Regions from separate parts of the Homo sapiens genome. Here region 2 is linked to region 1. The links are contacts of gene promoters, found by promoter capture Hi-C in human tissues and cell types (Jung and others, 2019). All regions are on one chromosome and are shown on one strand. Each heading gives the region's core, a stretch centred on a gene start or on the middle of the fragment in contact. The rest is flanking DNA. Distances are from core to core; before and after follow the strand shown.

Region 1 (7,358 bases), core at 4,538-7,037:
TGGAATTCTATTTCCCATTTGGATTGCGGTCTGGTCCTAGTGGAAAAGGGAGTTCGGGTGATTCACCTCTCTGTAGACCCAGAGTCCCATAATCTATTTCTGACTCATATTTGTGGGTCATTTTCTCAACTGATGCTGTTCAGCCAGCGTCAAAAGTGAGTGGGAAGAATACAGTTCCAGGAGATCATCACCACATTTCTCAAAGCCACCTGAGGGCTGTAATCCATTTCCTGTCCTCAATTACAAAATAAACTCCTATCAAAGACATACAGCTTAGTATCCTTGATTCCACCCCTCTTTGCAACCTTCATAAGAACAGCCCAAGGTCTTACTTGAGCTTTGAGTGCAGCTCTCACTGGAATGGAAAGAGAGCATCTTGCCTTTTTCTTCAAATCATTTCTCCTCCTCATCTGAGCCCCTTTCTGCAAAGGAGATATGTTGGAAAGGGGGCTGGCCAGTGAGGTCTTGGATGGAGGCACAGTGAGAATTTTGGTCTGTAGTTCCCCATTCCATGTTGAAGCTCAAACAAAAGGTCCTCTCTCTTACACATCCAGATTCAGAGCGTAGCATGTTATGCTGGACTTGTCTTTTTTAAGTCTCTCTTTGCTTCGTTTTTGTTTTTGTTTTGTTTTGTTTTTTTGAGACAGGGTCTCACTCTGTCGCCCAGGCTGGAGTGCAGTGGCGTGATCTTGGCTCAATGTAAGATTCTCCTGCCTCAGCCTCCTGAGTAGCTGGCATTACAGGCGCGTGCCACTAGGCCTGGCTAATTTTTGTATTTTTAGTAGAGACGGGGTTTCACCATGTTGGTCAGGCTGGTCTCAATCTCCTGACCTCATGATCCACCTGCCTCAGCCTCCCAAAGTGCTGGGATTACAGGAGTGAGCCACCGTGTCCGGCCATAAGCCCCTGTTTATAAGCATGGCTCACTCTTACTGGCTGAAGAGATTGATTTCTCTTGCCTGCCGCTCTTCATAGCCTCCATAAGGAATGTTTCAGGATGTGATTATGCTGGGGATTTAGACACACATAAGGGGAGACTTTTGCAGAGTCCTGCCATAGCATCAAAAAACAAGATATAACAAAACCAGGAGGCACCGGGACTAGAATGCAGGAGGCTCATCACCTTTTGTTTCCCGGCCCAGTTCCCACCCAGGAGTACTCAAAACTCTGCCCAGATTCAAAATGCAAAATTAAACAGACCATATATTAACAGTTGTATATATATTTTGCACATGAAGAAAATCATTATAGTATTACAATTGTGTGTGTATATATATAGGCCATAATTTTTCAAATGCTTGGAAATGACAAATATTAAATTATACTTGATTGTATTAAATATATATATATATGATAAAATAAAATTCTATGATAGGGGATGTGGCATCTTGAAGGCCTAGTTGGGCTGCGTGTGCCATTAAGATATACAGGGCTGCAGAAAAGTAAACCCCAAATAGAATATTCCTTTATCCCTTGAATGTTGGAAGGATAATTAGATCAGATATGATCACGTTGAATTGATCAGATTGGAGCCAGTGCTAACTCAATCAACTTCCAATTCCTAAGGCAGCAGAAAGCCCAGCTGGAGAGGGAAACTTCTGCTCTATCTCACCCTCCCTCATTCATCCTGGGAGCCACATTGTGTTCTGTAGAATTTGCTCAGGATTCACAATCTGAGCTGATAAACTTACCTGGATTATCGTAACCCTTACCATTTTGGTATTTTCTTTTTGTTTCTCAGTTTAAAATGGGTTGTGAATATTACTAATGCATCATAAGTTTTCAGACACCCAGTATGTCACTTGTCTGGGTCCAGTCCTAGGAAATCAATACCTAAATTCAAAAAATCATCCTAAGATTAATCTTTGAAAGCTGCCTGTGATGATTCGGACTCACTGACCTCCCTTCTCTTCAACCTACAGAGAAAGCGAAAGAGCTACCAAGTCTTAGGGCACATGGACAGAACCAGAAGATGCCCAGTGAAGTGCTAGGATAGGGTACAGTCCCATAGCTTTTGGGCCAAATGAGAAGGAAAAGCAGAACCTGGGACCAGGAAAGCCCCAGCAGCTCCAGACTCCAGGACTCTTTACCAAGACTGATGGGAGGAACTAAGGCAAAGATGAGACACCTGTCACCAAGACACCTGTCTTGGCTGCTTCCACTTCTGACTCAGTTGTGTTGGTGTGAATGCAAAACTGGCTCTCTGGCTCCCAAGAATGTATAAATCCAGGACAGAAAACCAAGCATTTGGGCACCAGGCAAGAGGTCTTTCCAGATTCCCCAAACAGACTTTTCAGAATTCCCCAAAGATACTGAAACTCAGACCCATTCTGACCCCACCCCAAAAAGTATCATAAATGGAATCTGGGAGCCATTCAGAGTCTCCAGCCTCCTCTTTGGTGAAAATGGACTTGGACCTAAAAAGGCACCCCATTGTCCACAAGGACACAAATTCAGATGCTGAGCACTGGCCTCCTGCCTTCCGATGACGGATCTTACCTGAGTCCCATCAAAGCCCATACTGTTCCCCAACCTCCACCATCCAGACATTAGGAACAATCCCTCAGAACTGTCTTGATGAGATGGGACAAGCAGTGGTAGAGGTCCAGATTCAGAATGGTTGCCTCATCTTTCCCTTCTGAGAAGTCTATACCTGCTGGTCTGAGCCTTCATCCCTTACATGGCTTAGCCCATGTCCCAGGAAGTGCCCCCTAAAAGAACCTTCTAGTATTTTTCTCCCCTGAAGAGAGGGTCCATGAGACACTCTATGCCAGGAAATACATGACCTCCATTCTCACATGACTTGATTGACTGATAAACTGATACCCTGAGAAAGAAAAAGATGCAGGGAACATCTTGTGTGTGGTGAATCTGTGCTCCTCAGCTGTGGTGCCTGTGCAAATGGTGGAACCCAAAAGAATATTGGGTGGTAGACACACAGACCCTACCTAATAAAATTATGTAAGTTTAGGTTTAATATAGATGGAACTTATAATGTCATATAAAATGTTGTTACTTATTTTGTAAGAAAGCTGAGTTAGATTTTGTAAAGGCATTAAATATAATTTTAATGGGAAGCTATGAAAATTGTGTGCATTTGGTGTGTAAATGACTCATTTTGGGTAATTCTGTAAAGGCCACCTATGAATGTGAGTCATTAGTAACCAAATCTCCTATAGATAGCATATTGCATATTCATTTTAATGTATTCTTTTACCTGAGCTCAATTTTTCTTAATTTTATTCATCAAATTTTATACGCTTTAGATAAAAGACACCTTGTAGTTACCATGTGCTCTATGGATCTCTATTTTGTTAGAAATACAGATTTTCAGGCAAAACCCAAGTATATCGTATCAAAATCAGGTTTTTAAATAATATTCCCAGGTGATTCACATGCATATTAATAATTGTTAAGTGGGGGTAATTCTATAATTAAAAGGGAAAAGGTTATATGAGTGTATTTATTTGTTAAAAAGGTACAGAAAAGATTGTATGTTTCAATGTATATACATCTTATCTCATAGAAAATAACTAAAAACAATAATAAAGTGGGGATGGGGAATGAGTTGAAGTAGAAGTTAAACAGAAATGGCACATAATTAGTAGATGTTTAGGCTGAGCATCAGTCTATTATACTACATTGCTTATTGCATATATGTTTAAAATATTCTCTAATAAAATAATTGTATAAAAAGACAAACTTTATCTACAACATTAGCTCTTAAGATTGTGGTTACTTTTGGAGGGGAGGAAAAGAGAAAGTGGTTTGTGTGGCAGAAACAAGGCTAGTTCTATCCTATGCCTACACAAATGTATTTGTTTGTAATAATTTACTGAGCATTATGTTAATGCTTTGGACATATATTTCTGTATGCATGTCATTCAATAAAATTTAAATATTACATATTTAATCTTAACAGAATAATAGCAATGTTTGGTATTGTTTTGTTTGAAAGTGAGGCATTTAGTGTCAGACATCATGAGATGGGTATTAATATTCCAAGGTATTTATTCACATCCTGACTCTTGGGGGTCCCCCTCGATCTTTCATTTTTACCTCAATTGAGTAAGTAGCATGGTTGTAGTTTTGGGGAATGCAATTTTTTACAGCAAAGTCCTTCCTCCACGATAGTACTCACCACGGCCAGGACACTTAGCACAGGGCCCTGTACGTAGTGTGCACTCAGTGTGTGTGGAACTGGTGTGAATCAGAAACAAAACAAGTAGCAGAGGTCAGTTCTGCAAAGGATAGAAAGTAAGTAATCAAGACTGAAAGGCCGCAACTCAGCAGCAAACACTTCTATGTTAATTTGAGAAATAATTTCAACTGGCTCTCCAAAAGATGTTGGTTTAAAGCAGTAACATGGGAGTTGAGCTGTGTGCTATAATCACCCGAGAGCTTTAAATCACACTGTTGCCTAGGTCTCACTCCAGAGATTGACTTAATTACCCCATTGCAACTTGGGTTTGAAGACTTTAAACACTCCTCTACAAGGTTATTGAAATATGCAGCCAAGGGTGAGAAGCATTGATTCAGGGTGAGGAATACATTGGCTGTATGTGATTTTTATGTGTGCTTTAGGGATTTGCCCCATAGCTGCTCCTGAATGTGGGGTCTTAGAAAACATCTTTACCCTTCAAAGCATATTCTGCTGATTGGCTAAATTGCAGCAGGAAAAAATATCAGCAGCTCTGTCTTTATGTCACTTGCCTTCAAAGCAAAAGATTTTTCAGGCACAGTAATTTGATTTAGTCTGTGTTAAAAATCATAAATAGCCTAGAAATACAAAAAAAAAGAGGTGTTCAGGCCTTCACCTCCCTGAGATCGGAGCATCAGAGCCCTCATGGCTGCTGGTTTGAAGTAAAATGTGCTGCAAACATAAAATACACAGCGAGTTTAAAAGATTTAGATCCAAAATATTTATAATTATTTGTTGACCACACATGAAAAATAATATTTTGGGTATAATGGCTTAAAGAGTATTACAAACAATTTCACTTGTTTCTTTTTATTATTCCTATTATTTCTGAGATGGAGTCTTGCTCTGTCACCCAGGCTGCAGTGCAGTGGCACAAACTCAGCTCACTGCAACCTCCACCTCCTGGGTTCAAGCGATTCTCCTGCCTCAGCCTCCCAAGCAGCTGGGATTACAGGCGCCCGCCACCATGCCCGGCTAATTTTTGTATTTTTAGTAGACAGGGCTTCATTATGTTGGCCAGAGTGGTCTCGAACTTCTGACCTCTGGCCTCTCAGAGTGCTGGGATTACAGGCGTGAGCCACCATGTCAGGACTCTTTTTATTACTATTTTTGATCTGGCTAATAAGACATTTAAAATTCACAATAGCTAACGTTTTATTTTTTAGAGGATTGCTTCTCTCTTAAAATCTTAGGTGTCCCACTCCAAAGACCGGCGGCCAGAAAGGTTATGAAATCTGAAATATTAAATAATTGTCATTATATTGCTTCCATTTGTGAACAACGTGTGTGTGTGTTTTATAAACGAACATAACCTTCATAACGTTATACACCACAATGCTAAAAAAATGACCCCTGGGCAGAGCCAGGCGCAGCACAGACAGAAAGCCCTGCCTGAAAGTGACTGGAGCCAAGAGCCTGTCACTCTCGGCTCATTCCGTGCAGTGTATGGTAGCATCTTCTGACACGCAAGGCCTGAGGTCGCGGTGCCTGCACTACTATCCAATCAGGGCTCTGGGGTGGGAACTGTCCAATCAGGCGCGCAGCCAGGGAGGAAGGGGCGGCTTCCGGAATCTGGCGCGGCCTTTGTCTCACTTCAGCCAGAGCGCGGGGTTAGGGCTTCATTGCCTTGTGTCCTCTGCTCCGGGAGACTTCGGTGATTCTGCCACTCACTCCGTCGCTCTGTGACCTGCTGGCATTGAATGATTTATAGCTAAGACTCCAGGACACCCCTGAAGCCGAGAAATGGTGAGTGTGGGGGGCAGGGCGTACCGAGACTGGGGAGGGGGCTCCTTGGAACCGGCTGGACATGGCGGTGACGGGACCTAGTCTGCGAGTCGAGTCTGCAGCTCAGCCCTCAGTCCCCTCCGGTGCAGGGACTCCGGGCGTCCTGTCCTGTCCCTGCACGGCGGCTTTGGCCCCAGCCTGTAGCCCTCTTTGCGCAGCTCTGCGCCCGCAGCCCTGCATCTTCCCCAGGTTGTGAGGTGATGAGGCGAAAGTCATCGGAAAGACGCCGACTCGGTGTGCAGGGTTCCTGCGTGGAAGGAGCTGTGGTCCGTGGGGTCCCCCGTCCCTACCTTACCCTGTTCGGAATTAGACTGAGGCGCCATTAAAACATAGACAGCTTATATGAGTAAACAGTGATTAATTAATGGGACAGCGCTCAGCAATGGTTTGTGGTTGGGGGGCTACTAGAAGGTCTTGAAAGAAAGGCTTGTATAAGGTGTGTGAGGAAGCAAAGACAATTAAATAATTGGGTACAGTTATGTAGTCGCTTTATTTGGAGTGTCTGGGTGGAAATTTCCTGGTTATGTAATCAGGGATTAATTGGAGGTTTGTAGTTGTTTAAGCTTGAATTTCGTTTCCTCCTAAGGTAGTAACTTAGAAAAAAATGCATTTGAGTTAGATTTCTTTTTTTACATAGAGGCCTAGACCACTAGAGCCACTTCAGTCTAAATGACTGCTATGTAATTATTTTAACTTTAATCAAAGACACTGGTTTTCGCCTGCATTTTCCAAATGTGTGGCAAGCAGGGTCTCACATCCACTACTCTGTTCTGCCAGCCTAACCTGGCTTGAAGTAAAATCTTAAATTTCCGGTTTCTTGCTGACATTCCCCAAAGCCAACTTCTACGCTCCCATACATTATCAACTGTTTTTGTCCTTTATTGCACATTTCAGAAACAGTATTTGAATTAATCACTTTTTCACAGAGCAGTGGATGGCAATTTGTAAAATACTTATTTTCTACTTACAAATATTTCACATGAGAAAAAAGCAGAAAATAATCCCCTGGCACTCAACTGTAAAAAATCTTTCTGCTGTTTCTCCTTGTATCCTCCCTTAGCACAAACGCCCTTATTAGGCCATCTTGGGATTGAGGTTTTCGTTGGGAAACTTTATGGGGCAATGTTTCCTTAGCCACATTCGGGCCTTTTTCTAGTCCTGAGTTTTAGAACTGTCTTGAGATGGCCCAAGATACAAACCAGAGCCATGTATTTTGGGAGTTCTGGTGAATAGCAGCCCTTTGGTAATCTTCCAGAGGACACACTGAGGGATGGGAGTGCAGCTTCTCAAAGGAGCAGCTGAATGCCCTGGGGGTGAGAGAAATATCCAGGCTTACCCTTCCTGTAAAAAAAGAATCCCTTGGGATTTTTAA
Region 2 (6,454 bases), core at 3,560-6,059, 35 kb before region 1:
ACTGGCCTTGGACATGTCCATGGTCCTAACCCTGGCCCTGCCCTGGAGCTGCCACTGTCTTGGCTCTGCCCTGGCCCTGGCAGGGACCTTGGCCCTGGCCTTCGCTGCTTAAGGCCATACCTGGCCTAGCCCTGGGCCTGACCCTGTCCTGGCCCTGATTTGCCCTGGCCCTACCCTGGCATGCTATTCTGGCCCTAGCCCTGACCCTGTCCCTGTCCCTGTCCCTGTCCCTGTCCTCACCCTAGTCCTGTTGCTGGTCCTGCCATGGCCCTGGTCCTGACATTGCCCTTTCCTGGTCCTGGCCCTGGCCCTGCCCCGGCCCTGCTCTGGCCCTGGTCTGAACTCTGGCCCTGCAATGGACCTGCCTTGTCCCTGCCCAGACCCTGGCTCTGGCCCTACCTCTGCCCTGGCCATACCCTTGCCCTGGTCCTTGTCCTGTCCCAGCCGCGTCCCTGGCCCTGCCCTGCCTGTGCCCTGTTCTATCCTGGGCTGGCCCTGCCATGGCCTGGTCTTGCTATTGCCCTGCCCTAGCCTGCCCTGCTTGTGCCCTAGATCTGCCCCGGCCTTTGCCCCTGTCTTGGGTCTAGCCCTGACTCAGCCCTGGACCTTCCCTGACCTTGCCTCAGCCCTGGCACTACCCTGGCCTTGCCTTGGCATTTGCCCTACCCTCTCTATGGCCTGGCTCTGGTACTGCCCTGCTCTGCTCTTGTTCTGTCCTGGCACAGCCCTGGCCCTGGCCCTGCCCCTGGTCCTGCCATATCCCTGGCCCTGGTCCTGCCCTCATGCAGGCCTGCTCCTGCCCCTGCCCTGGCTTTGGCCTTGGCCCTGTGCTATCTTAGTCTTGCCCTGGCCCTGACCTCGCCCTGGCCCTACCCTCACCCTACCCTGGCCCTGCATTTGGCCTGCCCTGGCCCTGGTTCTGCCCTGGCCCTCCCCTTGCCCTGGCCCCTCCCTGGCCATGCTTTTTCCCTGGTCCTTCCCTGGCCTGCCCTTGCCCTGGCCCCTTTCTGGTCCTGCCATGTTTCTGGCCCTGCCCTGTCCATGCCCCGGACCTGGCTCTGGCCCTAGACTTCCCTGGCTGTGCCCTGCCATACCCTGGCCTGGTCCTTGCTCTACACTGACCCTGCCCTGCCTTGGCCCTGTGCTACCCTCACCCTGCCCTGGCCCTCCACTGGCCCTGGTCCTGCCATAGCCCTGGCCCTGACCTGGCCCTGTCTTAAGCCCTGGCCCTGCCATGTCCCTGCCCTGGCCCTGGTTCTGCCCTGCTTCTGGCCCTGGCCTTGGTCCTGTCATGTCCCTGGCTGTGACCCTGCCTGGTTCTACCCTGGCTCTGGCCCTGCCCTGGTTCTGGTCCTGCCCTGGCCCAGCCCTGACTGGGCACTATACTACCCTGGCCCTGCCCAGCCCAACACTGCCCAGGCTGGAGCCCTGCCTTGGCCATGCCCATGGCCCTGCCCCTGGTCCTGTCGTGGCCCTTACCCTGCCACTGGTCCTACGATAGCCCTGATCCTGACTTGGCCCTGGTCCTGACCTAGCTGTGGCCCTGCCCTGCTTCTGGCCCTGTCCTGGCCCTGGCACTGCCTTGGCCCTGGCCCTGCCCTGGCTCCTACCTGCCCTGGCCTTTCCTCGGCCCTGTGCTAACCTGGCCCTGCCATGATGTGGCCCTGCGTCTGCCTTGACCCTGCTCTGGGCATGGCCTTAGCATTCGACCTGGCCCTGCCCTGCCCCTGCCCTGGACCTGCCCTACCATTACCTGGCCTGTCCTGGCCCTGCCCTGCCCTGGCCCCACCCTGGCCCGGTCTTGGCCCTGTGCCACCCTGTCCCTGCCCTGCCCTTGCATTGGCCCTTCCCTGGCACAGGCCCTGGATTAACAAAGTTGTACAGTCATCAATCACCACTGTTTCAGTGCAGAACATTTTCATCTTCCCAAAAAGAAACCCATCAGTAATCACTCCCTGTCCCTCTCCCGTCATGGCCCTTGGCAACCACTATTCTAGTTTTTTGTCTCTATGGATTTACTTATTCTAAACTAGACATTTGATATAAATGGAATCATTCAGCATGTGACCTTTTTGTCTGGCATATGCCAAGATTTTTGAAGTGTACTTTTTAATTTTTCTCTGATATTTTCTAGATTTTAAAGTTTAGATTTTTAAATCTTTCTGGATTTAATTTTTTTTTTTTTTTTGAGATGGAGTTTCGCTCTTGTTGCCCAGGTTGGAGTGCAATGGCACAATCTTGGCTGACTGCAACCACTGCCTCCTGGGTTCAAGCAATTCTCCTGCCTCAACCTCCCAAGTAGCTGGGATTACAGGCATGTGCCACCATGCCCGGCTAATTTTGTATTTATAGTAGAGATGGGATTTCTCCATGTTGGTCAAGCTGGTCTCAAACTCCCACCCTCAGGTAATCCACCTGCCTCAGCCTCTGAAAGTGCTGGGATTACAAGTGTGAGCCACCGCGCCTGGCTAAAAAAATGTATTTTTAAAAGTGTATTACAAAAAAAAAATTAACTGGATGTAGTGGCAGGCGCCTGTGATCCCAGCTACTCAGGAGGCTGAGGCAGGGAGAATTGCTTGAACCTGGGAGGTAGAGGTTGCAGTGAGCTGAGATCATGCCACTGCACTCCAGCCTGGGCGACAGAGCGAGAGTCCATCTCAAAAAACAAAAAATAAAATAATAAAATAAAATAGTATTCTCACCCTTTTCTACTCACATTCCCTCTGAGCTAATTAGTGCTATTGGCTGATGTGTATCCTTCCACTCACATTTACTTACTCGTACATTCAAATGCAAAATACACATACATACATAGGATGGTGGTGGTTGTATTTTAAAATGAAATTATTTTATGCTCATTACTTTGCATCTTGCTTTATTTAAGAAAATATTTTAGCTGTTCCTTAAAATAGTTGATAGAGATCTAACACATACCTTTCAATATTAGGTAACATTCTGTTACACTAATGAGCCTCATTTACTCGACCATTTCACTGAATGGGTGGATATTCAGATGTTTTCAGTTTTTTGACACCATAGCTAAGTCTTAATAAATATCTTGTTCATACATTCTTCTTAACTGATGCTCTTAATTCTATAGACTAGAATCCCAAATCTGGGGTTTCTGTGTCACGAACATTTGCATTTAAAATTTGTAATAGTTATTACTAGATTTATGTTCCCCAGTAGTTGCAGCAGGTCACAGCTTCATCCCCACTGAAATGCCTATTTTCCTGCATTTTTATCAGGATTAGCTGTTTTGCAATCTTTACAACTTTTTGCCCCACTAATAAGGTAAGAAAGTATCTTATCTCAAGTATTCTTACCTTCTCTTTCAGAGGTAAACTGTATGACGTAATGGATATGTTAATTACCTTGATTGTGGTACTCATTTTAGAATGTATAAGTTTATCAGAACATCATGTTTTGTACACCTTAAATATATACAATTTTTATTTTTCAATCATACCTCAATAAACCTGAAAAAAAGTCATTCAGAAAGGAATCAAACAGTAGATACTAGCATTAAAAATATGTTATAAATTTTCAAGCATAGAATGATAACATAAGATTAGGAACAAGAATACGTGTGTATAGATTTTAACATTTATATCTGTGAATATTAATCAATATATACAGATCTTGAAGGCAAGTTACAATTGTGAAGAAAATGAAAATTATGTTGTGTACCTATAATATGAAAATAAAAAATCACACAAAGGCATATACCTTCACTCAAGGATGCATACTCGAGTGTACATATTATTTATAATAACCTAAATTTGTAAACAGCCCCAAATGTCCATTAACTTGTGAATGAATAAACCAACAGTGATACTTTGAAAGAATGGAATACTATTCAGCAATAAAAAGGAACTAACTACTGACTCGGCAATATTCGTGAATCTCAAAAATATTATGCTAAGTGAAAGAGAGATGACATACTATGTGATTTCTTTTAAAATTTCTAGAGAAGACAAAATTCAGGACAGAAAGCAGATCAGTGGATGCCAGGAGTAGGAGTTAAGGGAGGAAATTTATTGCAAAGGAAATGTAGGGGACTGATTGTGGTGATGTTTGAAATGTTCTATGTCATGATCATGGTTGTGGTTACATGACTATTCTGAAAGTTCGTTAAGTTGTACACTTCAAATTGCTGATGCTCATTATATGTTAATTATACCTTAAAGCTAATAATTCATATTTAATCTCCTTGTGGTTTTGATTTGCATTTCTCTGATGGCCAGTGATGATGAGCATTTTTTCATGTGTCTTTTGCCGGCATAAATGTGACTGTTCATATCCTTTGCCCACTTTTTGATGGCGTTGTTTGATTTTTTCTTGTAAATTTGTTTCAGTTCTTTGTAAATTCTGGATATTAGCCCTTTGTCAGATGGGTAGATTGTAAAAATTCTCTCCCACCCTGTAGGTTGCCTGTTCACTCTGATGGTAGTTTCTTTTGCTGTGCAGAAGCTCTTTAGTTTGATTAGATCCCATTTGTCAATTTTGGCTTTTGTCGCCATTGCTTTTGGTGTTCTAGTCATGAAGTCCTTGCCCATGCCTACGTCCTGAATAGTATTGCCTAGGTTTTCTTCTAGGGTTTTTATGGCTTTAGGCCTAACATTTAAGTCTTTAATCCATCTTGAATTAATTTTTATATAAGGTGTAAGGAAGGGATCCAGTATCAGCTTTCTACATATGGCTAGGTAGGTTTCCCAGCACCATTTATTAAATAGGGAATCCTTTCCTCATTTCTTGTTTTTGTCAGGTTTGTCAAAGATCAGATGGTTGTAGATGTGTGGTATTATTTCCTAGGACTCTATTCTGTTCCATTGGTCTGTATCTCTGTTTTGGTACCAGTACCATGCTGTTTTGGTTACTGCAGAGTTGTAGTATAGTCTGAAGTCAGGTAGTGTGATGCCTCCAGCTTTGTTCTTTTGGCTTAGGATAGTCTTGGCAATGCGGGCTCTTTTGTGGTTCTATATGATCTTTAAAGTAGTTTTTTCCAATTCTGTGAAGAAAGTCATTGGTAGCTTGATGGGGATAGCATTGAATCTGTAAATTACCTTGGGCAGTATGGCCATTTTCACAATATTGATTCTTCCTATCCATGAGCATGGAATGTTCTTCCATTTGTTTGTATCCTCTTTTATTTCATTGAGCAGTGGTTTGTAGTTCTCCTTGAAGAGGTCCTTCACATCCCTTGTAAGCTGGATTCCTAGGTATTTTATTTTCTTTGAAGCAATTGTGAATGGGAGTTCACTCAAGATTTGGCTCTCTGTTTGTCTGTTATTGGTGTATAGGAATGCTTGTGATTTTTGCACATTGATGTTGTATCCTGAGATTTTGCTGAAGTTGCTTATCAGCTTAAGGAGATTTTGGACTGAGATGATGGGATTTTCTAAATATACAATCATGTCATCTGCAAACAGGGACAATTTGACTTCCTCTTTCCCTAGTTGAATACCATTTATTTCTTTCTCTTGCCTGACTGCCCTGGCCAGAACTTCCAACACTATGTTGAATAGGAGTGGTGAGAGAGGGCATCCCTGTCTTGTGCCAGTTTTCAAAGGGAATGCTTCCAGTTTTTGCCCATTCAGTATGATATTAGTTGTGGGTTTGTCATAAATAGCTCTTATTATTTTGAGATACATCCCATCAATACTTAGTTTATTGAGAGTTTTTAGCATGAAGTGTTGTTGAATTTTGTCGAAGGCCTTTTCTGCATCTATTGAGATGATCATGTGGTTTTTGTCATTTGTTCTGTTTATATGCTGGATTACATTTATTGATTTGTGTATGTTGAACAAGCCTTGCATCCCAGGGACAAAGCCAACTTGATCGTGGTGGATAAGCTTTTTGATATGCTGCTGGATTTGGTTTGCCAGGATTTTATTGAGGATTTTTGCATTGATGTTCATCAGGGATATTGGTCTAAAATTCTCTTTTTGTTGTGTCTGTGCCAGGCTTTGGTATCAGGATGATGTTGGCCTCATAAAATGAATTAGGGAGGATTCCCTCTTTTTCTATTGATTGGAATAGTTTCAGAAGGAATGGTACCAGCTCCTCTTTGTACCTCTGGTAGAATTCGGCTGTGAATCCATCTGGTCCTAGACTCTTTTTGGTTGGTAGGCTATTAATTATTGCCTCAATTTCAGAACCTATTATGGTCTATTCAGGGATTCAACTTCTTCCTGGTTTTGTCTTGGCAGGGTGTTCTGTGTCCAGGAATTTATCCATTTCTTCGAGATTTTCTAGTTTATTTGCATAGAGGTGTTTATACTATTCTCTGATGATAGTTTGTATTTCTGTGGGATCGGTGGTGATATCCCCTTTATCATTTTTTATTGCATCTATTTGATTCTTCTCTCTTCTTTATTAGTCTTGCTAGCGGTCTATCAATTTTGTTGATCTTTTCCAAAAACATCTCCTGGATTCATTGATTTTTTGAAGG

What was found. Contacts are between HindIII fragments. The study calls those that stand out against the background at their distance.
Region 2: a fragment that was not itself captured here is called in contact with the fragment with the promoter of ZNF519 in region 1 in 2 of the 25 tissues and cell types used here (ovary and stomach).

Annotation. Positions count from the first base shown.
Region 1 is chr18:14,130,864-14,138,221 of GRCh38, reverse strand. It overlaps ZNF519 (zinc finger protein 519), which reads left to right and starts at 5,787. Exons shown (of 3, transcript NM_145287.4): 1 at 5,787-5,947. The coding sequence starts at 5,945. It also overlaps the pseudogene FRG2LP. RefSeq lists a silencer at 5,527-5,586 and enhancers at 5,837-6,176, 6,079-6,600. The HindIII fragment of the contact is 15,609 bases long and covers 1-7,358 here.
Region 2 is chr18:14,165,835-14,172,288 of GRCh38, reverse strand. No RefSeq gene overlaps it. Among named protein-coding and RNA genes, the nearest start is that of ZNF519, 37 kb to the right of the region's middle. The HindIII fragment of the contact is 8,377 bases long and covers 621-6,454 here.